Linked DNA regions of Homo sapiens: regions 2, 3 and 4 are each linked to region 1. Evidence: promoter capture Hi-C in 16 types of primary human blood cells and fetal thymus (Javierre and others, 2016). All regions are on one chromosome and are shown on one strand. Each heading gives the region's core, a stretch centred on a gene start or on the middle of the fragment in contact. The rest is flanking DNA. Distances are from core to core; before and after follow the strand shown. Region 1 holds the start of TSEN15 (tRNA splicing endonuclease subunit 15). Region 2 overlaps EDEM3 (ER degradation enhancing alpha-mannosidase like protein 3). Region 3 holds the start of LOC105371648 (a long non-coding RNA gene). Region 4 has its middle 110 kb from the start of EDEM3.

Evidence for each region. The method cuts DNA at HindIII sites, captures the fragments that hold promoters and counts their contacts. A CHiCAGO score of 5 or more calls a contact.
Region 2: a fragment that was not itself captured here is called in contact with the fragment with the promoter of TSEN15 in region 1 in 1 of 17 cell types (erythroblasts); the score reaches 7.4 in erythroblasts.
Region 3: a contact is called between a fragment that was not itself captured here and the fragment with the promoter of TSEN15 in region 1, in 3 of 17 cell types (erythroblasts, M2 macrophages and megakaryocytes). The highest score is 6.4, in erythroblasts.
Region 4: a fragment that was not itself captured here is called in contact with the fragment with the promoter of TSEN15 in region 1 in 2 of 17 cell types (M1 macrophages and megakaryocytes); the score reaches 5.3 in M1 macrophages.

Annotation. Positions count from the first base shown.
Region 1 is chr1:184,048,615-184,054,698 of GRCh38, reverse strand. TSEN15 (tRNA splicing endonuclease subunit 15) reads right to left here and starts at 2,969. Exons shown (of 5, transcript NM_052965.4): 1 at 2,809-2,969; 2 at 264-345. The coding sequence starts at 2,943. RefSeq lists enhancers at 2,890-3,184, 3,063-3,192, 3,253-3,362, 3,115-4,050. The HindIII fragment of the contact is 4,301 bases long and covers 1-3,834 here.
Region 2 is chr1:184,692,432-184,698,515 of GRCh38, reverse strand. EDEM3 (ER degradation enhancing alpha-mannosidase like protein 3) reads left to right here. Exons shown (of 20, transcript NM_025191.4): 20 at 4,044-6,084. The coding sequence ends at 4,453. Among named protein-coding and RNA genes, the nearest start is that of EDEM3, 59 kb to the left of the region's middle. The HindIII fragment of the contact is 275 bases long and covers 2,180-2,454 here.
Region 3 is chr1:184,661,307-184,667,390 of GRCh38, reverse strand. It overlaps LOC105371648 (a long non-coding RNA gene), which reads right to left and starts at 3,049. Exons shown (of 3, transcript XR_007066768.1): 1 at 2,963-3,049; 2 at 1,790-2,122. The HindIII fragment of the contact is 4,662 bases long and covers 669-5,330 here.
Region 4 is chr1:184,640,309-184,646,392 of GRCh38, reverse strand. No RefSeq gene overlaps it. Among named protein-coding and RNA genes, the nearest start is that of EDEM3, 110 kb to the left of the region's middle. The HindIII fragment of the contact is 214 bases long and covers 2,505-2,718 here.

The DNA.
Region 1 (6,084 bases), core at 1,720-4,219:
TGTTTATTAAATACAAAAAATAAAAACTCCAAACTTCTACCTAATACTCAGCTGAGCAAATATCACTCGTAACACTACCTCCTGTCTTTGCTTTTCTAGTAGCTTCTGTTACTCAGTAATTCCCAATGTAAATAAATAAATTGCAAAATTAACAGCAAATGCATAAAAGATTGCTTATTATGTTAAGAATGCTATATCCCAATCCAACCCCCCAAATCTCTACCACAGTCCCAATAACAAAACAATATAAACAAACAACTTACTTTCCATGAGGTCCAGGTAAACCAAGAACGCTACATAAACTTGGGTGGCATCTCCTATATCTAATTCCATCATTTCTAGATACTGAAAATTAAAATATAATTGTCAAATTGAGAAGAAAAAATTATTTAATATTTTCTTCCAATCATCAAGTGGTCATCAAGCATATATAATCTATAAAATTCTTCTAGGTATAGTGGAAGTTAAAAGGCAATATAAGATCTTATCTCTGTCTCTAAAGAACTTGCAATTGTTAAATACATGCACACTTAAAATTGTTAGGCAAATAACAATATATGACTGTAAGTGATTAAAAACCATGTAAATGGAATAAAAAACATGACACAGCAGGTCAGAAGAGCTCTACTCAGAGGGACTGGTGAAAGATTTATAGCAGAGGTGGGATGGGATACAAGTTGAGCACTGAAGAACATTATGATTTAAGTAAGTGGAGAAGTAGAGTAATACTGCAGGTAATTACACAAAGGTGGGATTAAGCCACATACATTCAAGGGCCTGTAAAGAAACCTATCTGCCAGCAATAGAGAAACCTTTTTAATAAAACTTGTGATGGGACATGTTAGTGGGTACTGTGTATTTCCCTAGCCTCTTATTTGTATATGGAGAGAATCTGCTAGAGTATCAGTCCTAGCCTCTCTACCCACTCTTTCTCACTTTAAGAGTAGATTTTTTAAAAGGAATTGACAAGGAACTAGAGAAAGCTGCTTCTTTCAGACTACTGGTCAGCATAAGGGGAATACTTTTCAGGGGCCTACACCTGCAGGAGAATTCTGAGGCTGCCCAGCTATGCCAGCGACTAGGTGGATATGCAGGGCTAATGCTGAGTTGAATTATTAGCAGACCTGCATGGGGACAGGTCTAAAGTCACATTCTCCCATCAGCTTCACTGTAACTGTACAGGTTCAGGAGGACAGGGGTTAATTAGTTGTCGACTTCAAACATGTTTTGAAAATAACACCCAAAACATAATTTTGAGCCAGGTTACAAGGCTTTGGTGGTCAAGCTAAACATGTGATTTTATCAGTATGGAAACACTGAGGATTTCTAAGCAGGAGAATAATAAAATAAAAGTGTGTTTGGGGATAATAAATCTGGTACCATTTTACTGGATGAAACTACATAATTTTTAAATTAACAGAAAGGTGAAATTGGAAAAACAAATACCCCCTATTATTTTATTACTTGTTCTTTTTCTTTTAAAAATTAATTTGATCCTTCAAGAAGAGAAATCAAAAGGGGAGATTTGATGGTCAAGGTGTATACAGCCATTAACTTGAAAAAGAAAACAATCTACAAGTATATAAACTGAATAACACCACCAAATCTAGATAAAGTCTTAAAAAGTTGTTACTGGTGTTTCGCTTATTAAGTACTTATATAGTGCTTTCTGTATGTTGAATGGCTTACAAATATTCATTAATTTAATCCTGTAACAACCGTATAAGTAAGTATGGACTATTAATATCCCCATTTTTCAGGTGAGGAAACTAAGGCATAATAAGATCAAGCAACTTGTCCCAAATCACAAGGTTGATAAGTGACAGAATCAGGATTTAAACTGAGTCTGATTTTGAGTTCATGCGCCTAACCAATATGCTGCCTCTCCATGCTATTGTTTCCCTAAAAGGGCACTAAATAATATTTCCATGCTATTGTTTCTTTTTCTCACCTTTTGGGAGGATGAAGGGGACAGAGTAGGAAGATAAAATTAAGCAAGAGAAGCTGAAAAAGGTTAACTCTTCAAACTTATACCTTCAAATTTTTTCTTGGCTGTTTTTAGATGATTATGAATTATTGCTCTCTAGCAGAAGAGTGCAATTCTGTTAAAGTACCGTAGAGACTAGTTTTTGAGATTCTTACAAAACCCACATCTCCATTCACTGTCTATTCACTGCTTGGAACCGTACTTGTACAAGGCAGTAATGTCTCAAGCAGAAGTAAGCAGAGGACTATCTTGATCTCGCCTGCTGCTAATCTAGAAAAATACACGCAAAATGTGAGTAGCTCTGCTTTGAGCAAGAACCTATTCAAACTTTCGAAGAAATCTGAAATATTAGGAATCTGCACCTTTTCAAAATAAAGATGCATTCTGGGCCCAAGGCTAAGTGTAAACGTGACTGTGCTTAAATCTTTATCACTATGGACCCCTAGATCTTATCCATCGCCCACAAATTGTCTTGCATGGTTACCGTGAGGATTAAATAAATTTATCCCCCAAAGGGGATTTACCTAGACAGCAAAACTAGTGGAGCGCTTATTAGGGATCTCCGGCTTGAGAGGGGCGGAGTTACTGTCTGGCTCTCAGTTCCAAAATGGCTTTGGCTGGGGGATTGAGATAGTGCAACTTGTTTAAACAAACAAAACCGATGCTGCCTGAGGCTGGCAGTTGTGCACACCGGTCCCCCTCGGTGAGGGTGGCGCGCGTCCTCAGTCTCCCACTGAGGAAGAAAGAAAGAGAGCTGCCTGGGAGTGTTCTGCCTGGGTTAGGGGCCTGGACGGCGCCCTGCTCCTCTCGCGCCTCCTGACCTTAGGGTGAGTGCCCATCCAGGCGTCCTCAGGGGCCCACGAAGGAGCTCCACCGCCGTCGCCAAAGCCGCGAACACCGCCCGGACCCAGGCCGCTGCAGCCGGGGGTCGGCTCGGAATCGCCGCGCTCCTCCATGCCGGCCGGTGCGGCGCTCCCGTGGTGCACCACGACCCGCGCCCGGCCAGAAGCAGCGGCGCGCGCGCCTGTGGGTTCCGCTTCCCCGAGGCTCGCAGCTGCAGTGCGAGAGGGCTCAGAAACTGGGAGGAAAGTTGCATCAGCCCCTCCTTCTGACCAAGGTAGCTAGAACCTGCGCGAACGCTCTCTAGTTTCGCTCTGCGTTTATTCAAATCTGAGCAAATTCTAACGTGAAAAATATTAAAGAGTAGCCTGCGCCCTGAAGCTCTTAATCCTCTTTAAGTCAGTGCTGCCGATAACTCTCTGAGAAAGTTGGGGGATACATACGTCCTCTTTGCCTTCAGCAGTGGGGTCCTGGTTTCTGATTGCTGGGGACGGGAAAGGCCTTACTCAGTGCCCTGACATAGAACTTTAAAGTAGAACCATACTTTCAGGGTGGACCCACGTTTCAGGATTAGAGGAAACACGAGTTGCTGAACGAGTGTTCAGAAAGGTAGGATACAAACTAGCATAAGCATGTGATCTGGAAGCCAAGGATGAGGAGTTTCAAACAGGCAGAGTAGCACATTTTAAGTATTTTTTAATTTACTGTGAGTGAAATGGGAAGCTATTGGAGGCTCCTGGACGTTTTCATAGGATCACTCTGACTGATATGTTGAGGATAGACTGGAGGGAGCAAGGACACAAACAGAGACTGGTTAGGAGGCTATCGCATTGACCAGGACAAGGGTGACTCAAAATCCAAAGTCCCAGGCAGGACATAACTTCTGTTTTCAACCATGATAGACTAAGACCCTAGTGGACCATCCCCCAGCAGAAAACAATTTGGACACAATGCAAAAAGCTGAATATACTGGAATGTGAATAGTGGACTGGTAGGAAGGGCAAGCTTGCTTGAAGATCAGGAACTACACTTGGACACAATACAAAAAGCTGAATATACTGGAATGTGAACAGCAGACTGGTAGGAAGGGCAAGCTTGCTTGAAGATCAAGAACTCCACAAGAAAATTCTCCTCTCTTTGGCATTTAGCTTGGGGCAAAGTGCAGTCCAGAAGTCAGGCTCAGCAGTACCAGGGATGCATGTATAAAACTTATCAGTTATTCTTGTCTGGGGAAGCAGAAAAGTGAAGACAGAAAATTTTGAATTCTGAAGAGATTAAGAAATCCCAAGGAAGGAGTCAGAGAGTGGATCCCCAAACTGTCAACCCACATCTCTGAGAGATCCTGAACCACCCAAAACAGAATCACAGCAGCTCAGTTAAAAACAAAAGATCTGAACTGAGACCAGAGCTGTCTCCAAAAGGGAGAGAGTTTTCAGTTAAAATCTAGCCGGGAAAATTACCTACTAATACAAAGGAAATAACACTCATCAGAGAAGAATAATAGAATCCAGACTCTCCACTTAACACTCACAAAGTCCAGAGTACTATCCAAAACTATCTGACATATGAAATTCAAGGAAATGGATCGCATACTCTAGAGATCAACCCTGAGATGAATCAGATATTGAAACTGACAGATAAGGATTTTAAAGTGACTATTATAACTATCCTCAATGAAGTAAAACATGTTTTCAATGAATGAAAATCTCAGGAGACAAATAGAAAATCTCAGCAAAGAAAAAGAAAAAAAAAGATTTTTAAAACCAAATGGAAATTCTGAAAATTGAAAATTATAATTTTAGAAATAAAAAATTCACTGGGTGAATTTAACAGCCAAAAAAAATTACAAAAGAAAAAGTAGGGAACTTGAAGATAGAGCAATAGAAATTATTAAAAGTAAACAACAAAGAGAAAAATTATCTTTAAAAAGTGAGTAGACCAACAGAGATTTGCTACATGTCAGACAATCCAACATGCATGTAAACAACAGAAGTAGAAAAAAAAAGGGACAGAAAAAATTTTTGAAGAAAGAGTGGTGGCCAGAATTTCCCCAAATTTGATGAAAAACACATTTACTAGTACAAAATGCTAAATACATAGCAACTAAAATAAACACAAAGAAGTCTACATTGTAATAAAACTATTGAAAGTCAAAAAAATAAAGAGAAAAGCTTGAATGCATCAAAAGAAATAACACATCATACACAGGGAAAAGAAGGGCATCTATTATTGAATGAAATGTAAAGCCACACATGAAGATTCATATGTTGCCCTCAAATACATTACATTTGAATGAACCTTTGCCACCACAAAGCAGCTGCTAAGCCCGAAAGAAGAAAATGGCACTGAAATTAATTGGGTCATTGAAGCATGAAACACTGACACGAATTCAAGTGATTGGAAGTGAATAAATCTCTCTGACTCCTAAAGATCCAAATCAGTTCATATGATGGCATTTTTAAAAGCATTAAGAGTATTTTGATGCTAATCTGAGTAGAGGGAAACTTTTATAAATCAGTAAGGATATCCAATGGGATTAGGGACTATATGAACCAGCCTCAAACATCTGCAGGGGAAGAATTTCAGCTTATGTTCAAGAAAAAATAATTGGGGGTATGGAAAGAACCATAAACCAAAAAAGCAACAGATAAATGCCATCCTTTGGCAAATAGATTAAATACTGTTGCTTAGAAAAAGCATGATACATTCAAGAATGAGTATTACGTGCTTTTCAAAAGAGTTGAAGAATGAAAAGGGAGTGTCTGTTAGCTTCCCTGTTAATGTAAATTTTTAAATAGGTCTTGGTGATTGTGAATGGCTAAGAATGAACACAAAGGATTTGGGAACACTTAGACAACCCAGTATTTAAAGTACAGAATCAAAATACCTATTGTGACAATCTAGAGTGAAATCCACTAGAGAACAGAGGAGAGTTTCAGTGTCTGGTATCCTGGAGGATTTCTCATTTTGTAAATGCTTCAATAGTTCACTCTATTAGAGAACCAAAGTAGTGAGAAAAAAAAGCTAGATAAGAAACAACGAATGAAATCCCCCCTGAGTATATTGGATTTAATCAAATTCATTGTAATCTGGCACTTGCTGAACTCATTTCCCAATGATATCCTGAGCCAGATCATTTTATTCCTACAAAAATCTGTAATGTCTAGCCAGAGACATATTAATTCAGTAAGAGTCTCGAGGAAATGCGAACACTAAATTGTGATGTGAATCTCTAGTGTGGAAAGAAAATTTAAAAA
Region 2 (6,084 bases), core at 1,068-3,567, 640 kb before region 1:
GCCTTTTACAGTTAAAGCTATATTAAAGACATTCCTCCAAGTTAGTAGGATAGCATAACTTATTCTTTTGAAAGCTGCATTATGTTTTGCATTATCACTGTACCATAATTTATTTAACCATGTCACTATTAGGCGTCCAAATTATTTCCAGGTTTTTGTTTTGCCACTGTATACAATGGTGTAGGTAACATTCTCGTACATATCTTCTTAGATATGCATACTTTTTCTAGAATATTGAGATTTACTAAAATGAAATGCTGGCAGAAAGTATATGGGTCGTTTTCATTTTAATGGATGTTGCAAGTTGCATTCCAAAAAAGGTTGTAGCAATTCACATCCTTTCCAGCAAGATATGAGAGTACATGTTTCTTCCTATTTTAGTCAGCATATTTCCCTTTATAGGTATATTTTTTGTTTTTTCTCTTTATGGATTGCCTAGTCATATGTTTTGCATTTTGCCTTCTTTAAATAAGATTCTGTGTCTTTTCTAGATATTTTATAGGACCTCTCTGTTTGTGTGTGTGCGCATTTCCTATATTTACATACATACTCATAAAGAAATAGAGGTTCTATAAATTATCTAGAAAAGACACACATATAGGGACAGAGGTTACACACACACACACACAATTTTCCCAACATGTCATCTTTTCACTTTGTTTATGTAACTTTCATAACATTTTTAGGTAATCAGAAATATTAATTCCTTTGAGGCTCCTGGGTCTTCTGTCTCACTTCAGAAGATCACTCCATCCTGTTTTTACATAATATTTTCCTAAATTCTTCTGGCATTTTTACCATTTTTTACATTTTGGTCTCTAAATCATATGGAATTTTAAAATAAAAGTTAGGAGTCTTTCCAATTGAGTTGTCAGTTACTAAATACCATTTATGAAGCAAACCACTCATTTCTCCTTCAGTTAAACTACCATCTTTGCTATATATCAAATATTCTTGCATAGTTGGATCTGCTTCTAGACTTACCCTTCTCTTCTACTAATGTGTTTATTCCTTTGCCAATAATAAAAGTTTGCTGTTTTGAGTATATTTTATTATCTGATAGGGCAACTCTCCCCTCACTGATTCTTAGAATTTCTTGGCTTCTCTTTGACATATGCTGTTCCATAGAAACTTTAAATTAATTGTATCTGGTTCTAAAACGAAAACAAGAAGTACAAATGAGATTCATTTTGAAATTATATAATTGCATACTTTACATATAAATTAGGAAAATGTTAAATATTAAGACTTCATTTAAGAATATACCTATAAATTTAATCAAATCTTGTTTTATGTTCTCATTATGATTTTATTTAAGCAACGTGGGTCTTATACCTTTTATAATAAATTTAATTCTATGTTTTGTAGCTTTTTATTATGAAAAGGTTTAATGATTATATTTTAACTATTTATTGTTACTACAAAGGAGTTATTGGTATTTGCATAGTCTTCTTACCAAATTTTTTTTATCAATTCTAATAGTATTTTTTTATTAAAGTTGCTTTGACAGTGTACGATCACAATCTGAAAATACAAATAATTTGATCTTTTTCTATATTTACATTGATTATTCTACTTTCTTGTCCGATTACATCAGCTAGATTTCCAAAATAATATCGTATATGTAACCCTAGGAGAGTTTTTTATCACAAGCACAATCTTCATTACCAGGTAAAACAACCCTACACCTTTTCCTCTCCTTCTAATCTGGAATAATACAATCTAGAAAGAAACTTGGAGATTTTTCTTTTTGTTCTCTCTTGAATTTAGGGAACCTAGGATAAATAAGCTGTAAGTAGCCAGCTACCTTCTTTCTTTGGTCTGCACCATTGGTTTCCCTAATTGCCTAATTAAATTGTACCTTTTTCACAGCTTAGAAGACAGAGATTGTGTGGAATTCCTCAATCCACCCCCTGCTGATCCTCCCCTCCGGAAAAAAAACCCTAAGAATGTAAACTTTCAGAGTCAAGTAATCCCATCTAATCAGGGTGAACATATATGCATTGTAGGGGCAGAAAGGGGTGATCCTTTCCTCCCCATCATAAAGGGTTACAGCGGACACCCCGGGTTAAAAAAAAACAAAAACAGGTTAACAACAGAAAAGCATAATAATTTTATTATGTGTACGTGTGTGCACAGGAGCCATACAAAATATGAAAGGGGACAGGTGGTTGAAGCTTAAATACCCTCTTCTTAGGGTAGAGGAATACTAGGGAATGAAGAGGTCCAGTGCTTAGACAATGATTGGTAAAGGATTCTCTTTGCATAGTATCTAGATAAAGTCCCCCAGTTAATCTCTCAGCTGTCCTCAGAAGAACAGAAGAAAAGTCTGTTTGGGTGTGGTGAGGACCCCTGTCTCTACTCTTCTCTGATGGCTCATTTTTTTTCTCGTTATTTGATGAGAGTCCTAGGGAGGGATTCTTGAGACAATTGCATTTCATTTGGAAAGAAGCTTCCTTAGATAAGAAAATTCCAGAGAGAATCCCCCCAGTTGCTTCAGGAAAGAGGATCAGAGAGACAGGGAGGCAGGGGAAGGTCAGAGACAGACTGGTTCTGAGGCTTATTTCTGAGACCTTTCAGTTTTCCAAGCATTCATCATGCTGAAGCACCATATTTTGGGGAATTGTTTTCTGTGCCCCAGCAATACCCACCACACCTTCCTGCATGTCTACATTTCCTTTGTTTTTTCTGGTTTTTAAATAAATCCTCTTCCCTCCCTTCTTTGACATTATCTTATACTTTAAACCCCAGCTCAAGTGTCACTTTCTGAAGGAACTTTTTGAAGAAACTTCTCAAATCTCCTTACAGTTCTCCCTCTGTATCTGTGGGTTCTGCACCCATGGATTCAACCAACTGTGGATAGGAAATATTCAAGAAGAAAAAAGCATCTGTATTGAACATACAGAGATTTTTTTTCTTGTCATTATTCTCCAAACAATACAGTATACCAATGATTTGCATAACATTTACGTTGTATTAGGTATTATAAAGTAATCAAGAGATGATTTAAAGTACATGGGAGGATGTGTGTCAGTTATATGCAAATACTGTGTCATTTTACATAAGGGACTTGAGCATCCAAAATCCTTATCTCTCTTTCATAACGTGTCACAGTTGAGTTTTCTATTTATTTTCCGTGATTATTTGTATAATATCTTTTTCTCCCGTTGGACTATAAGACCCATAAGGGCAGGTATAGCATTTGGTATTGCTCCTCATTTTATCCCTAGCACTATGCAAATGATGACTTGGAGGATATTTGCTGGCCAACTGCATCACAGAGGCAGAGACTGAACAGGATGTAGCATGTAGGCGTCGATGCTATTTAAGCACTTTCTTGTAGGAACCCTAAATAAAATGCCTCTACTGGTTTCACTGTATATTCATTATAAGAGGTTTAACTCACTCTTCAGCCTTCCAGTGGATTTTAAAATGACTATATCTTATAATTCATAGGCCTAAAATAATAGAATTTTATGAATAATCTCAGTTCTTGTCTTGTGAAAGTATTTCTGATCAGTCACATTAATACCCTTAGTCATTCAAAAAAATCTATGTTATCTGCTTCTTTATGACTTACTGAGTAGGAATTTCACTTTTCAAAGGAATATTATTTGAAAATATAGCAATGATATATGCTGTTTAAAATTGATTCTGTTTAATATGTTCTTATGCATAAGCTTTAGGTATCTAATACATTTTAGCCATACATTGCAAATCTCTATATATTTTAATATTATTATTGGTTAGCGTACTTCTTGGCTTACTAATGTCCACTGATGTCAGTCTTAGTTATTGTCATTCCTTCCAATTTGGAAGAACGTTTATTTTCTAACACTGACACATTTTGCACAGTGAATCTATAGGAAAATGTGACTGCATAAAGACAGTCTTCATTTCAGTGCTGATGCTCACCTTTCTGCATTAACATGAGTCTCTTTCACGTTTTATTTCATCTTGTTGCAAAAACCAATATGCTTTGGAAAGTGTAATAGTACATTTTTTTAGAGAAGTAGCATGAGGTTTGTTTCTTTCTCATACAGATCCTGAAATGGAAAATGAAGAACAACCATCCTCTGAAAATGATTCTCAGAATCAGAGTGGTGAACAGATTTCATCAAGTTCTCAGGAGGTTGATTTGGTTGATCAAGAGTCTTCTGAGGAAAATTCTCTAAATTCTCACCCAGAATCATTATCTCTAGCAGATATGGACAATGCTGCAAGCATTTCCCCTTCTGAACAGACTTCTAATCCCACAGAAAACCATGAGACTACAAATCTTAATGGTGAATGTACAGATTTAGATAACCAGCTTCAAGAACAATCAGAAACTGAGGAAGATTCCAATCCTAATGTTAGCTGGGGTAAAAAGGTCCAGCCTATAGACTCCATATTAGCAGACTGGAATGAAGATATAGAAGCATTTGAAATGATGGAGAAGGATGAGCTATGACTTGCTAAACAATCTGTTGGTAGGTATTTAAAAAGAAAAGGTAAACTGTGTGTGGTTAATAGACATCCTAATACTAAGCAGGCTTTCTAATGGGAGGCTTTAAGTATGGTGATGAACAACCACGTTCTGACTGGCGTAGTTATCGTAGGAATCTGGAGCATGCTGTGTTAGAATTGACCTTGTTTAAAACTGTCCCATCAAAAATGGAAATCCACAGTTCCCCCTTCAAATGCAGCACTGCACCACCCTGCAACACCTCAGGCCAGGGAAAGATTACTGAGCATTCCTGCGAACCAGATTTCTGTTGTCTCTGGATAGACAAGAAACAAAATTCATTTAGTAGTGGAGTGGGGAATAGGAGTTTGGATAGCCTTCTAATTAAAGGAAGCTCGCCTTTCTTGGTTTTGGGGGTTAGAGGCTCTTTTGGGAAGATGCATCCGAGTATTGTGGCATTCTGATTATGCTGCCTTCACAAAACACTCTAAGTGACCTAAGTGGTTATGAAGCAAATGCATTTATGGTGAAAACAGTCTTTGCTCATTGCTTTCTCTTGTTTCATTTAGTGACAAATGATCAAGATGACTTGATTTTTTTTCCTTCTTAACAATGTCTTTTTTATTTAAACCAAAGGTGAAGCCAGTGTACTTTCTCAGTGAGTTCTCTGCATAAAGACTAATCAGTGGGACCAGGTAAAAAGGTCATATAATACATTGTGGAGATTGCTTACTTAATACTTCTGAAAAATGGAGTAAGGGAGAAACTGTAATGTTGCAATATGAACCTCCCATTGGGCCTTCCATAGGGAAAGCTGTGACTACTCTGAAATGGAACCTAGCATTATATCCTTGTAGGGTAGATTATAAATCATTTCCAGTTCATTTCTCTTAGAGGTGATTACCTCTAGCCATCAGCCTTACTCCATCCCATGTTTGGTATGCAATTTGAGCCACAAGGCTCGTATCGCCAACAGCTATATACATTTTGTTCCATTTTTCTGTCTTACAGAGCCATGATAGAACTGTGGTTAGTGAGTTAAAATTCCTGGAGTAACTACTGTTTTTCTCCTTTGAAACTTAGGTTTCTAAAGTTGCACCTAAGGAATCTGTCACATTTTCTGTTGAATCATGGTTTTTGTTTTTGTTTTTAACAGATATTCCTTCTGATACGGACTTGAAAATTAGTGTATGGTGACCTGTGTTTAAAAAAAAAAGTACAATACAACTACATATAGCTATATAGCTTAATGAGACTTCCACCCCCCCCCTTTTTTTTTTTGGTTTGTTGTTGTTGTAGTAGTCTGGTGCTGGCCACATTTAAGTCTTAAAAATTTTTAAATTTTGTTGTTGATGTTTGTAGACAGCCCTGTTGTTGAAATCATGGCTTTATTCATTTTATTTATTTTTTAAACTTGCCTGAATTTGTTCTAAAGGAATATTTAAGAGACATAATTTTCTTCTCTTTACCATAACATTACACAAAACTTTTTCCTAAAACACGGTTGTGAGGTACTGATGAGGTGTAAGTGGAGCTGTTAAAAACAGCAGTGCTGTATTGCAGTTATGTATATTCGTGTACAGTATGTTTAGATCCCAGGTAAACATATTCTTTTCTGAGAGGATAAATACCTGCAT
Region 3 (6,084 bases), core at 1,750-4,249, 610 kb before region 1:
GAAGGCTATGAAGAGTGGGTTCGCTTGCTTGTGTACCTGATAACAAAAAATATCACAAAAGACTGTAAAAACCACAACCTTGCATGAAGGCCACACAATCTTATACACACACACACACACACACACACACACACACACACAAATACTTCTGTAAAGACATCTGCCCAGTAATTGCTTGTCCAACCTTGTACTGGCATCACCCTTTCTATTGATCTTTGTAGCAAGGATAATTATCTCCAAACAATTATGTAATCCATCTCATTTTTCCTTTAAAAATTTTTGTCTTTCTTTACCTCTCTTAGTATGCACATAGTTTACTATGGCACACATATTTCCATTGCAATGCCTTACTCCTGAGTACATATCATTTTTATTTTAGAGAGCCCCTCTTCTGTTTGTTATTTAAGTTGACAAGTGCTGAGATTGAAGAGCTGACAAAAGAAAGATGTTAGTCTGAATTTGAACTTTCAAGTTCATATTCAACCAATTCAGGCCTGGTTACGTATGTCCCAAAACCTTACCTCATTCACCATTGTAATGGCCAAACCATGAGTCTCCCATAAATAGTGGAGTCTTTTGGATCCAGTAAGAAGTTTATATAAGATTTGAAGCTGATAAATCCTAAAGTGACCTCTTCCAAAATCTATTAATTCATGGCCTCTGAAGCTTAGCCAAAATCTTTGTTACTATTACTTCCCCTACCAGGAACATGTGGATACAGCCTACATTGACCCAGACATGAAACAGATAGAACTACTCATTCATTCGACACATATTTGTGAGTTATATCCCAGGCACTTTTCGAGGTCCTGGGGAAATAACAATGAACTAAGTAAAGTTCTAGACTCCATATAGCCTCTCTTCCAATTTAAATCAACAATTAATCGATAGAGGCTAGAGAGAAGCCAAATGGGATCAGAAATGGTGCTTTAAAAGACATTCATTCAGCAAAAAATCACCCAGAAGTTTAGATAATCTCTTTTGCATCTCATCTCAACCACTCAATCCCAGGTGTGGCCACAAATAGGCCTAGCACAAGTATAACAAGTGTTAAAGGGAGAGGGACATTATTTATCTGAACCTACAACTTTATCTTAGATAAAGATGGATTAATTATAATATAATGCTGACACCAATTGCAGTGAAAAAATTTCCCCCAGAGAGTCCCCCATTTGCAGGTACTGTTTATTAATAGATTGTCTATGGAGGAGGGATTTTAGCTGTAAAATTTGCAAATAAGACATTTCCCAGGGAGTGTTTCAGATTGGAAGTTTCCAGCAGTTAGTGTCTAACCATGCAAGTGGAATAGAGAGGTCTCTAAACTAAAACTGAGAAAGTATTCTTTGGGCGTTGGCCAGTAGAAGTTCACTGGTGACATAGGAAAGAACAGTTTCAGCCAAGAGCTGGAAGGAATGATACCAACATTGTCTTTGTCTTTGGTGGATTTCTAAGTCCCCAAATGGAAGTTGATGATAATCTACGGTTCTCCTTTGTGAAATGTCTCAGCAACTTGAAAGAAAGAATCTCTACATAAATCTAGCACTCTGTTGTTGCTTAGTCACTGTCAACCTGTTTTATTTTGTTGGTTTGAGTTACCTTAATGTTTCCTCGTTATAAATAGATAAGTTCAACCGACATCAAGATCTCTGACTGCAGTAGGATTCTGTGGGGAATCTGGAAGCACTACCATTTAGCACATTACTAAGACGTAACACATGCCCCATCCCCTGTCAGACCTCTGATTTGTGCATCGAATCCCCAGAATCCCCAGAACAATAATAGACTTTACTTTGTGATTCCTCTGGTGACACATTTCTTTTAGTTCTTCTGGCAGAGCTGGAGACTCGCACGACAAATTCACTCTGACGTTGTTTTCTAATTAGGTGCCTTGACACAGCAGGCATTCCAGTCTCCAACATTTCTTTTGTTTCTCTAATGTGCCAGAAAGCTGTCTGCTTTTTAGCTGCCTGACCTTTCAGAAATGTTACCTGCCCTGTAAAATGAGATAACACATGGAAGGCACCTGGCTCAGTCCGTGGCACCTGAGAGATTCTTGAGAAGTGTTCATTCCATTGCCCTGTTTCCTCTCTCCGCCTTCATACCTTCTGGTGCTTTAGTGAACCTCAAAGATAAAAATATTCCCGTTGTAAGGTTTACATTTTTCTTCATCCCAAAATAGAACTCAGTAACTCTATAAGCAGATACTATATGGATTCCACATTTCATTTCCTCTTATTCTCACAGGGTACCTTACAAGTTAGAAATTTGTATTGTCTCTGCTTTTTGGAGAAAGGAATCTTAACTTTTCTCAAGTAACCGAGGTTGCAGAGTGGGTCAATAAGGAACGTGGGACAAGAACCCGCATGCGCCTCTCTCCAAAAGTCTTCATCCTCAACCCCTGCACCAGACTGTCTTCCACACATGGGCTCTGAGCGGCCAGCACTGGATCTGGAGAAGCCACCACCCTGTCCTGTCCTCCAGGCAGAACGGAAGTGTGCCTGACCCCAGCTGTAAGCACCCGCCCTCTGTGGCCCGGAAAGAATCCAGTCGCAGGGCTTGGCCCTTCCCCATCCCCTCCTCTGGGCAGCCCGCGTTGAGTCCCATCTGGAACGTGGAGGAAGAAGGCCCTGTAGCAAACGCACAGCTAGACCCCCTCCCTCCCTGCCAGGCCTCCCTCGCCAACTCCATGCCCAATTTCAGCCCTGAGGGGCGAGAACAGCAGGTGCTCGGGCCGCCTTCGCCCTTGGTGTTCTGGGAGCCCATTGTCTAATTTTGCTCGGGCCTGGCCTGCTTCCTTTTTAGTCCTGCGCATGTGGGCAGAGTACAAGCTAATTGGCAGGGCTGTTCCAAATCCTAAAGAACGCGCGCGCTGCCTGCTCGCCAGCGGGAGGGCCGTGTGCCCAGCTTGCGCCCTGACATTTTCCGAGGCCTGGGCGAGGCCACCTGCCTGACGAAGGCTTACCAGGGAAAATCAGGTCCTGACAGCCTGACAGGGACAACCGCCCAGAGGATTCATCTGCTCGCGATGCCTGGTCAGCAAGGAGGAGACTCGACCTGGGACGAGGAAGAGGCCTTGAAGGGACAGAGGAGAGCGCATCCTCCATCCCCCGGCCAGGGAGAAGTCACGCGGACCCCCAGGTTGCTGGGCCGCGATGGGGGGAAGAGGAGACCACCCCCAGCTCCGCAGCGAGCGCCCTCACTTCGGGGAGACAGAGGCGTCGATCCCTCCTGCGGACGGCTGGGGGCGCTGCGCTTCAACCGAAGGCAGAGATCCTGGACCGGGGCGAGGCAAGCCCTCCCGGAGGAGAGGAGCTCTGAAGGGGGAAAACAGCTCTGCAGAGTGTAGAGGAGCCGGACTTTGCAGCCAGGTACCTCTGTGCAAGTCTCAGCTGTGCCTCTGAAGTAGCTAGCCGTTGCCCAGCACTGTGCTAAGGTCTTTTCATCACTGTGTAATTGAAGGCTCACAGCCACCCTTTAAGGAAAACGATCTTGTCGTCATTATTTTATAAGAAATGGAATGGAAGCTCAGTGCCACCCCTAGCCCATGGACACATTCCCAGAGAGCGGCAGTGTGTCTGGCCTGGAACTTAATGAATTCTGTCGGACAGAAGTCCATGCTCTTAACCATTAGGCCTCCCATACAAAGATACTTTGTACGGGGACATGAGACACAGCCTAATAGCACAGAAACTCACAGAGGACGAGTTTCTTAGTTTTGTCATCTCTGAAATGGGAATAATAATATTACTCCCACCTTGCAAGGCTTTGGGAAAGATTAGAGAGAATGTAAAAAGGTCCATGTGAGAGGTCCTCGTGGGTTAATGTGTGGGGGGAGTCCCCAGTCCCTCCCCGGGCACTCAGAGCGATGTGGGAAGACTGTGGAGCCCATGCTTATTGATGCTGTTTCATTTCAATTAAACCTCCGTCAGAAACATCGCATGACATCAAAATGGAAGAGATGTTGAGTCTGAACGGTGAGGTCATAGATTTTGTTTTTATTTATGTATTTTCCAAATAAAAATATGTATCATGTTTTCTCATCATAATTGTAATATGTGATGATGTATCAATTATGGAAAATACAGAAACTGTAAAAGAGGAAATGAGGAAAACCTTTGCTTCTCACTGTTACAGATAACTACTGTTCAAAATTATAGATAACAACTCTGGAGGCTGAGGTAGGAGGACTGCTTGAGCCCAAGAGTTCGAGGCTGCAGTGAACTATGATTGCACCATTGCACTCCAGTCTGGGTGACCAGCAAGATCCTGTCTCTAAAAAAAATAAAAATAATAAAAATTTTAAAAATATTTAATTAAAAAATTATAATGAATAATAATTTATTGTATATTTTAAAACAACTACAAGGAAAGAATTATAATGTTCATGACACAAAAAAAGATAAATGTTTGAGGTGACAGACATCCCAATTACCCTGACTTGATCATTACATGTTGTATACATGTATCAAAATATCACATGTACCCCAAAAATATATATAACCATGATATATCAATTAAAACATACTAAAAAAGAGCGATAACTACTCACTTTTCCTTTACTTAGAGTGTTTCATTAATACATTTACTGTTTTACAGAATTGGTATCACATTGTAGGTTACTATACTACACTTTTAAAATGTAATATTTCATAAACATTTTACCATGACATCAAATAATCTTAACACATTTAAGAATTAATGGTTGCCTTCCAATTTTCTTTGCAAAGTGGTTCATTATTTTTGTCATGGAAAAATAAATTTACACTTGAAAGAACTTTATTGTGTTAAAAAAATACTTGTAAGAGGGCTGCACTGCTTTGCCCAACAATGCAGTGTGTTATGTTTTATGTGTAGTGCAGGTCTGATGAAAGGTGATAAGCCTCCAGTAGTAACCATGATATGTGAAATGGAGATAAAGATGGTTGATTTTGTGAGGATTAAATGAGATCAGATAGGCAATGTGTCTCTAAGACAGTGTGGGCCATGGTGAATGCTGTCATGACAAAATTATGTTAGTCAAGGACATTGCTAAGAGAATAAGATGGGTGCTGGTTGGGGGTGACCTGGAGAATTGGAGGATAGCCCTGCCAGTGGCTGCTGAAGCCAGCTCCTACAGGATATCAAAAGCCAATGTTAAATACTCAGGAACTTTACAAGCTGGTTGTAAAAGCCTGTGAAATTTCACTGGTAGCTTGAAATCTGTTATGGTATGAGCATTTACACCACCAAAATTGGAAATCAGCAAATGCTATATTGTTCTCTATGTATGTATGTACTTTTCAGAGAGCTGATTTTACCAGCACACCACTAGCAGGGATAATTCAAAAGCTTTGCTTTTTCTCAAAGTGGTGGAGCCTGCAGGAAATGCTTGTGAGGGCTTGTAAAGCATTAGTAGATTTTGTTGAGATGGTGTGTGATAAACATGAGCTGAAATCTTGGTCTGATTGCTCTTGCTCTAACTGGAGGAAAGAATAGGGAAGCATAAGCGTTGGGGAAGCTAAAAGGGTAAACCTGGGGAGTTATTGTTTATGCTCCAAAAACAGAAATAACTGGATTAGAGGATAAGACTGCAGGAGATGGGAAGCCTTGTCACTTGGAGTGACAAAGACCTATTAGTAAATGGGAAACTCAGGGCTGAAGAGACATTCTTGGCCAAGAGAAACTTGTGGGAAGGAGTTTGATCGATGAACAAACACAGCAGTCTCTTTTGCCATAGAAGGCAGGTGGCAAGGATCAGAGTCAGAGGGTCCGTGCGCTACAAGGGTTCACAGATCACTGGTCTGTCTTCTTCATCTGACCCTGTCAATTACTTCTGAGATTCCCCACCCCCACCTCCAGGAGCTCAGGTGCAGGCTATAGTCTTCTTCTGCCACTTCTCTGTTCTGTCAGCACACCACTGCTTCTGTGCCCTTTGCCCTTGCAGTTTGGGTTTTCCAAAGGCAGAAGCAAGGACAGCGTTCTTCAAGAGGACTTCATGGTGTTTTAGAGATCAACACCTTGGAAAGGAAGAAAAGAAAGAGAATAGGGCCTGGGAAGACAGCTTCAATGCAGACCCAATAAAGCTTCCGGCAACCAGGTGAAGAA
Region 4 (6,084 bases), core at 1,362-3,861, 590 kb before region 1:
CAGGGTTCTGGGTGGGGAGAGGAGAATCAAAGACCCTGGCTCTGAGACATTTCAGACCACATCTAGTCAAGTGCTAACAGAGTTAGCTGCAGTACCAGTGGCTGAGAGAAGTCTGGCCATTAGGTGACAACTGTGAGCAGTAAGCCCTCATGGTTCTCTGTGCCACTAATTTAATTAAAATAGAAATTGTAGGAGGGGCTTCCTGAATGAGGGAGCGTTTATCATGGGCTTTGAGGCATGGGGAAAGTGAGTGTTCTAGAAAAGCATGTCAGCTTCTTTAATGTTCCAAAAATATAGTGAAATCCAGTAAATTTTTTGTTTGTTTGTTTTGTTTTGTTTTTGTTTTTGTTTTTTTGAGATGGAGTCTGGCTCTGTCGCCCAGGCTGGAGTGCAGTGGCGCAATCTCGGCTCACTGCAACCTCTGCCTCCAGAGTTCAAGTGATTCTTCTGCCTCGGCCTCCTGAGTAGCTGGGACTACAGGCGTGCACCACCATGCTCGCCTAATTTTTGTATTTTTAGTAAAGACAGGGTTTCATAATGTTGGCCAGGATGGTCTTGATCTCCTGACTTCATGATCCACCCACCTCAGCCTCCCAAAGTGCTGGGATTACAGGCATGAGCCACTGCTCCCGACCTCCTATATATATATATATGTGTGTGTGTGTATATATATTTGTGTGTGTGTATATATATGTGTGTGTGTATATATATATGTGTATATATACGTGTGTGTATATATATGTGTGTGTATATATATGTGTGTGTATATATATGTGTATATACATATACACATATATATATATATATTTTTTTTTGAGACAGAGTCTCGCTCTGTTGCCCAGGCTAGAGTGCAGTGGCGTGATCTTGGCTCACTGCAAGCTCCGCCTCCCAGGTTCACGCCATTCTCCTGCCTCAGCCTCCCGAGTAGCTGGGACTACAGGCGCCTACCACCACACCCAGCTAATTTTTTGTATTTTTAGCAGAGACGCAGTTTTGCTGTGTTAGCCAGGATGGTCTCGATCTCTTGACCTCATGATCCACCCGCACTGGCGTCCCAAAATGCTGGGATTACAGGCATGAGCCACCGCACCTGGCCTCCAATAAATATTTTTATGAGTGAAAGAATACAAGAAGAAGTGGCTTGCTGGATATGGTTTGTACTAGACTATTTGGGAAAATGATCAGGAAGACAGTTGAGGTTCTTCTCAAGTTAGGTTTTGTTCACCATGTCAGACCTTAGCCACTCAAGCCCATCAAAGAAACCCATGATCTCTGAGGAACAGGGTTCCTCTGGAGGGGTGGCAGGGGGTTTGGGGAGAAGTTGAATCACTTGCTACCTGAGCCAGTGATCTAAGATATACCACGCAGGTGCTGCCTCCGCAACCCAGGATCCTACCAGCTGCAGAAGTCGCGAGTAATGCCAGCCGGGCTCCGAAGACTCCCTCAGCCCCCGGGGCCAGTGGACAGTGCCCACATCCTCTGTGGCCCTCTCGCAGCTGTAGAAGACAGGCACAGGTCTTCCGTTGTGTGCAGGTGAGTGGGGCTGTGGGCGTGGGCCTCAGACAGCTGACGGGTATGAGGGGAGGCAGGCTCCACCATCAAACAAAGGCTTGGTTGTGTTAGACGGTCCTTCAGGGAGTCAAACATTTAGATTATTGGGCTTGGATTAAGGAAAGGGCATTCTCTGCAAATAGCATAGGTGCCTGGAAGTCACAGTGCCAACTCAAGATGCTTGTGGGAGGCAAGATTGAAAGGTTCAGTGAGGCCAGTGGCCAGGGTCATGACATTATCAACAAGCCTTGGGAGCTGGGTGAGGGAGGGTTGGGGCTTGGTTCTGGGTCTGGGAGAAGGAGGCTTTGAATGTGGTTGGAGGAGAAGGGGAGATGGGATGATTATATCGAAGGGGAGCTAAACTGGAATTCAGACACTTGGATTTCATATTCTAGCATGCCCAACTAGCTGTTAACTATGAGTACATCATAGTCCTTCTTTGTGCCCTGTTTTCTGGATCTGTCCTGCTTCTGGCCAGGGTTTTTAGGGGTGCAGGAGCAGATGGATGTGCTCGGAAAAGGCACACAGTCCCACAGCACTGTGAATGGCTAATGGATCTGTGTTTCTGATTTCTCTGCACCTTACAAGGACATCATGGTGCTCAGTAAATATAAAATAACAACAGTAGTTTCAGGCTTACAGACACTAACCTGAAATATTCTCTACTAAAGTCAAGTGGGTTTCAGATAACCTTAAGGAGGAATGATTTCCCTTTCCATAGCTCCCAGGATCAATTCAAAATAATAAAATTTGGGGCCGAAGAACTAAAAATTGGGATGGATCTAAAGTACTTCATCTCAAATATCTCATTCTTCCAAAGAGGATGATCCAAATTACCCAATTCTGAATGAGACAAAAAAATTTACTTTGGGAAAGAGATTGGATTCCTTTGCTGAACTTACATCCAGTGTTTTTGAAATGACTAAGAACAAGAAAGATAAAATATCCAAGCTTACCTCATGAATTAATCAATCAAGGAAACAGACGTTTCCATTATCCAAGATAAGTTAGCAAGCCTTGAAATGTAAACTTCTGAGAAATACCAGACTGTCCTATTTGGAAGGGACTTTTAAAGATGAATTTAGCCCAGCATACTCACTTTACAGATGAAGAAACTGAGCCCCAGAGAAGAGGCTAGTGTAAGACAAAAAGTACATATACAAAGCTTACCTCCTCCTCTGCTGAATAAGGACAGCTGGACATGACTACAATGTGTCCCAACATGGCACCTGGCTGCTTGGGATGTGTGCATGGCTGATGTGGTGGGATCTGTGGTTTTATTTTTCCCCAGCATCTCTTGCATCTCTTCCTTCGGGGGAACACTCCTCTCTTTCTCTTGAGTCTGTCAGTCACAGTACTGTCCATCATGGGAAGGCACATGACCCAGGCTGGCCAATATTTGCAGAGATTGATCTGGAGTGGGCATATGATCAACCAGAACCAATCAAAATCCTCTCCTGGGCTTTTTTTTTTTTTTTTTTTTTTTTTGACAGAGTCTCACTCCGTCACCCAGGCTGGAGTGCACTGGTGTGATCTCGGCTCACTGCAACCTCTGCCTCCCAGGTTCAAGCGATTCTCATGCCTCATACTCCCAAGCAGCTGGGATTACAGGTGCACACCACCACACCTGGCTAATTTTTGTATTTTTAGTAGAGATGGGATTCCACCATATTGGCCAGGCTGGTCTAGAACTCCTGACCTCAACTGATCTGGTTGCCTCAGCCTCCCAAGATGTTGGGATTACAGGCTGAGCCACTACATCCTGCCCTCTCCTAGTATTTTTATTTGGATGTTATATGAGTGCTTCCAACACTGTGGGGGCCATGCAAACCTGTTCCCCTGGTTGCAAAGAGGAAGCTGTTTAGGTGGGAGAGAATGAGGTTACTTCAGAAGGAAGTAAACTCAAGATTAGAGAGAGATAGATATAAATACAGACATACACACATGTATACATAGAAACATAGATAAATAGCAAGAACCATCTCCGACACCTGCTTACTTTTTAGCTTGAGGAGTTTGAAGTTTCTGTTGCTTGCAAACAAAGATTGAGGTTAATATTGTGGAAATATGAAGTCCCTGTGACTTTGTTAATGATCTAAAGGAGATAAGCTGATGGTAGAAGGGAAAGAAGTGAGAAAAGCTAGGTTGTCCTCTGCCACTTTCCTGTAAATCTTCGATTAAACTCATTTTTCAGATAGAATGTTGGGCCACTTCCAACAAGCCACTGTTCCCTGGAAGCTCCACACTTCCTTCTGCCTTTGCAAATGCTATCCTCTGTGCTCTTGGGATTGCTTGCCCCTTTCCTTTTTTGTTTCATTTCTGGTTAACTCCTCTTCATCTTTCAAAGCATTGTGCAAGTCATTCATTCATTCATTCATTATTCATTCATTTTTTAGCAAGAATTTGTTGATTCAAAGGCTGTTCTAGGAGCTGGGGATATGACAAGGAAGATGACATTTATTTATTCGTTCAACAGATATATTGAATGCCTGGTATGTACAAGAGGAGGGAATCCACTGGTGAGTGAGCAAGACGAGGTCCCTATCCAGTGGGGGTTATTCTGTTGGGAGATAAAAGAATGATTCAGGAGTGGGATGTGTATTCTGCAACTTATCTCAATCTTCGTCAATAGCTATTTCTTGCATTTTTAAAGAAACCATGAGAAACGTGAGGAGAGAGACTGTGTCCTTCATCTCCTGTCTCCACAAGTGGCACAGGTCCAAGGAAAGGTGGCCTGGTTTGAGGTCAGCAGGGCTTCATTATTCATAGAGGTTGCTGCCCAGTTTTGGCAGGGAGGAGGGGCTGCTTATGGGAGGAGGGACTGGGCTTCCCAGAGGCCTGGTGGACTCCTCTCTAGCAGTGGGTGGGAAGAGGAATTTAATGAGCTTTTAAAGAAGACAATAAAGAAGATCCAAAGACCTGGCCATCTGGACTTCTGCTCTTAATGAGAAAGTAATCATGGCTCCAGAAAATAGCTGGTTAAACTTAGAAGAGAAGCCAAGTATGTTTAATTTCCATTGAAAACTGTTTGGTAGTCTCCATGGGCAAGGCTGTGACAGTCAGTGCCACTTAATGAGGCTGCCATGGGCTTCTCCAGCTCAGGGAGAAGGAAGTCAGGGGACCAGGGAGGTAGGTTCAGGGCAGGGAAAATGCTAGAGGCTCTGGGAGGTGATTCCCTGGGTGCAGAGACGCAGCCAAGACCCCTATGGTCAGGAGACCTATGGTGCCCTTAGAATCAGAGCTGAAGGAACTGTGGAGTTCATCTGGCCCAACCCCTTTATTAGATGAGAAACCCGAGGCCCATAGAGGTTAGACAGCCTGATCAAGGTCAGACAGCTAGGTGGTGACAAAGCCAGGAGTTAGCCCTGAGTTCTCCTGACTCAGCAGGAAGCCAAGCCCCCCTCAAGTAGGATATGGGAAACTTGGCTGCTACCCCACCATATACAGACATGTTTCAAGATTAGTATCTCGTCCTCCATCCTTTCTCTCTCCCTCCCAAGAAGAACTGAATGCCTGTATGCTCCAGGGACTGGGATAGGTGCTGAGGAGAGAGACGTCCAGGTATGGTTGCAGCTCTGAGGGGTTGGCTACAGGGGAGGAAGACATAATAACCGCTAGGCAATTGCAGTTTGGTGTGGTCACACAGGACACTTAATGACCTTTAAGTGCACAGGGCCCTCCTGGCTGAGCCTGGGAACTTCAGGGACCACCTTCTGGAGGACAGGATGCCTGTGCTGAGTCTTGAAGAATGAGAGGGATTCCAGCATGGGACAGGCTTTGAGAAGGCAAAGGAGATCCTGAGAATTTCATTTCAGGCAAGTGACTGGTGATGGTGTGAAGGGTGAATCTAAGAGGAGCAGAGGCTGGCAGGGGAGACCTGTGAGAAGGCAGTCATCTAAGGAAGAGATTATGAGGACATATGGTTGCAAGTAGTAGGCAGGAAGGAAAAGATTTAAGAATACATAAAAGGTAGAATTAGCAAACCTGCCAATTGGTGAAGAGGGGGAGTGAGGCAGAAGGAGGAGCCAGGCTGAGTCCTCAGGCTCTCCTTCCCCAGCCAGAGTCCTGATGGCTCCCTTCCACAGCTCCAGGCTGCTGGCTGAACATCTCCATGCACACAGCCTTCTGGCCTCTCAAACCCTCCACTGGATTCTGCACAAAATCATCTCCACCTCTTCATTTTCTAGTTTCAGTCAATGGTCCCCTACTCTCCTTTCCGTCAAGTCCCATTTCCAGTTTTGCTCCCCTTGTCGCCAGGGCCACCCTGTCCTTACCTTGGCTGAGCAGAGGACACCTCTCAGAGCAGCCCAGTGCTCCGGGCTGTCCCAGAGGCTGAGTTTTAAACGTGCATTTAATCACTTCCCCAAGTGGCTGCCTTTTACTCTGAGCAGTTGATTTATCTAAAATTTAGTTCTAAGTCCAAAACACATTTACCAAAAATTCACTATTTGCTGAGCCCTCAGAATCTAAAGATGAGCACGAGGTCAGTTTCTGCCCTCCAGGAAATGCTCAGAATATAAAGAGATCCTTCTC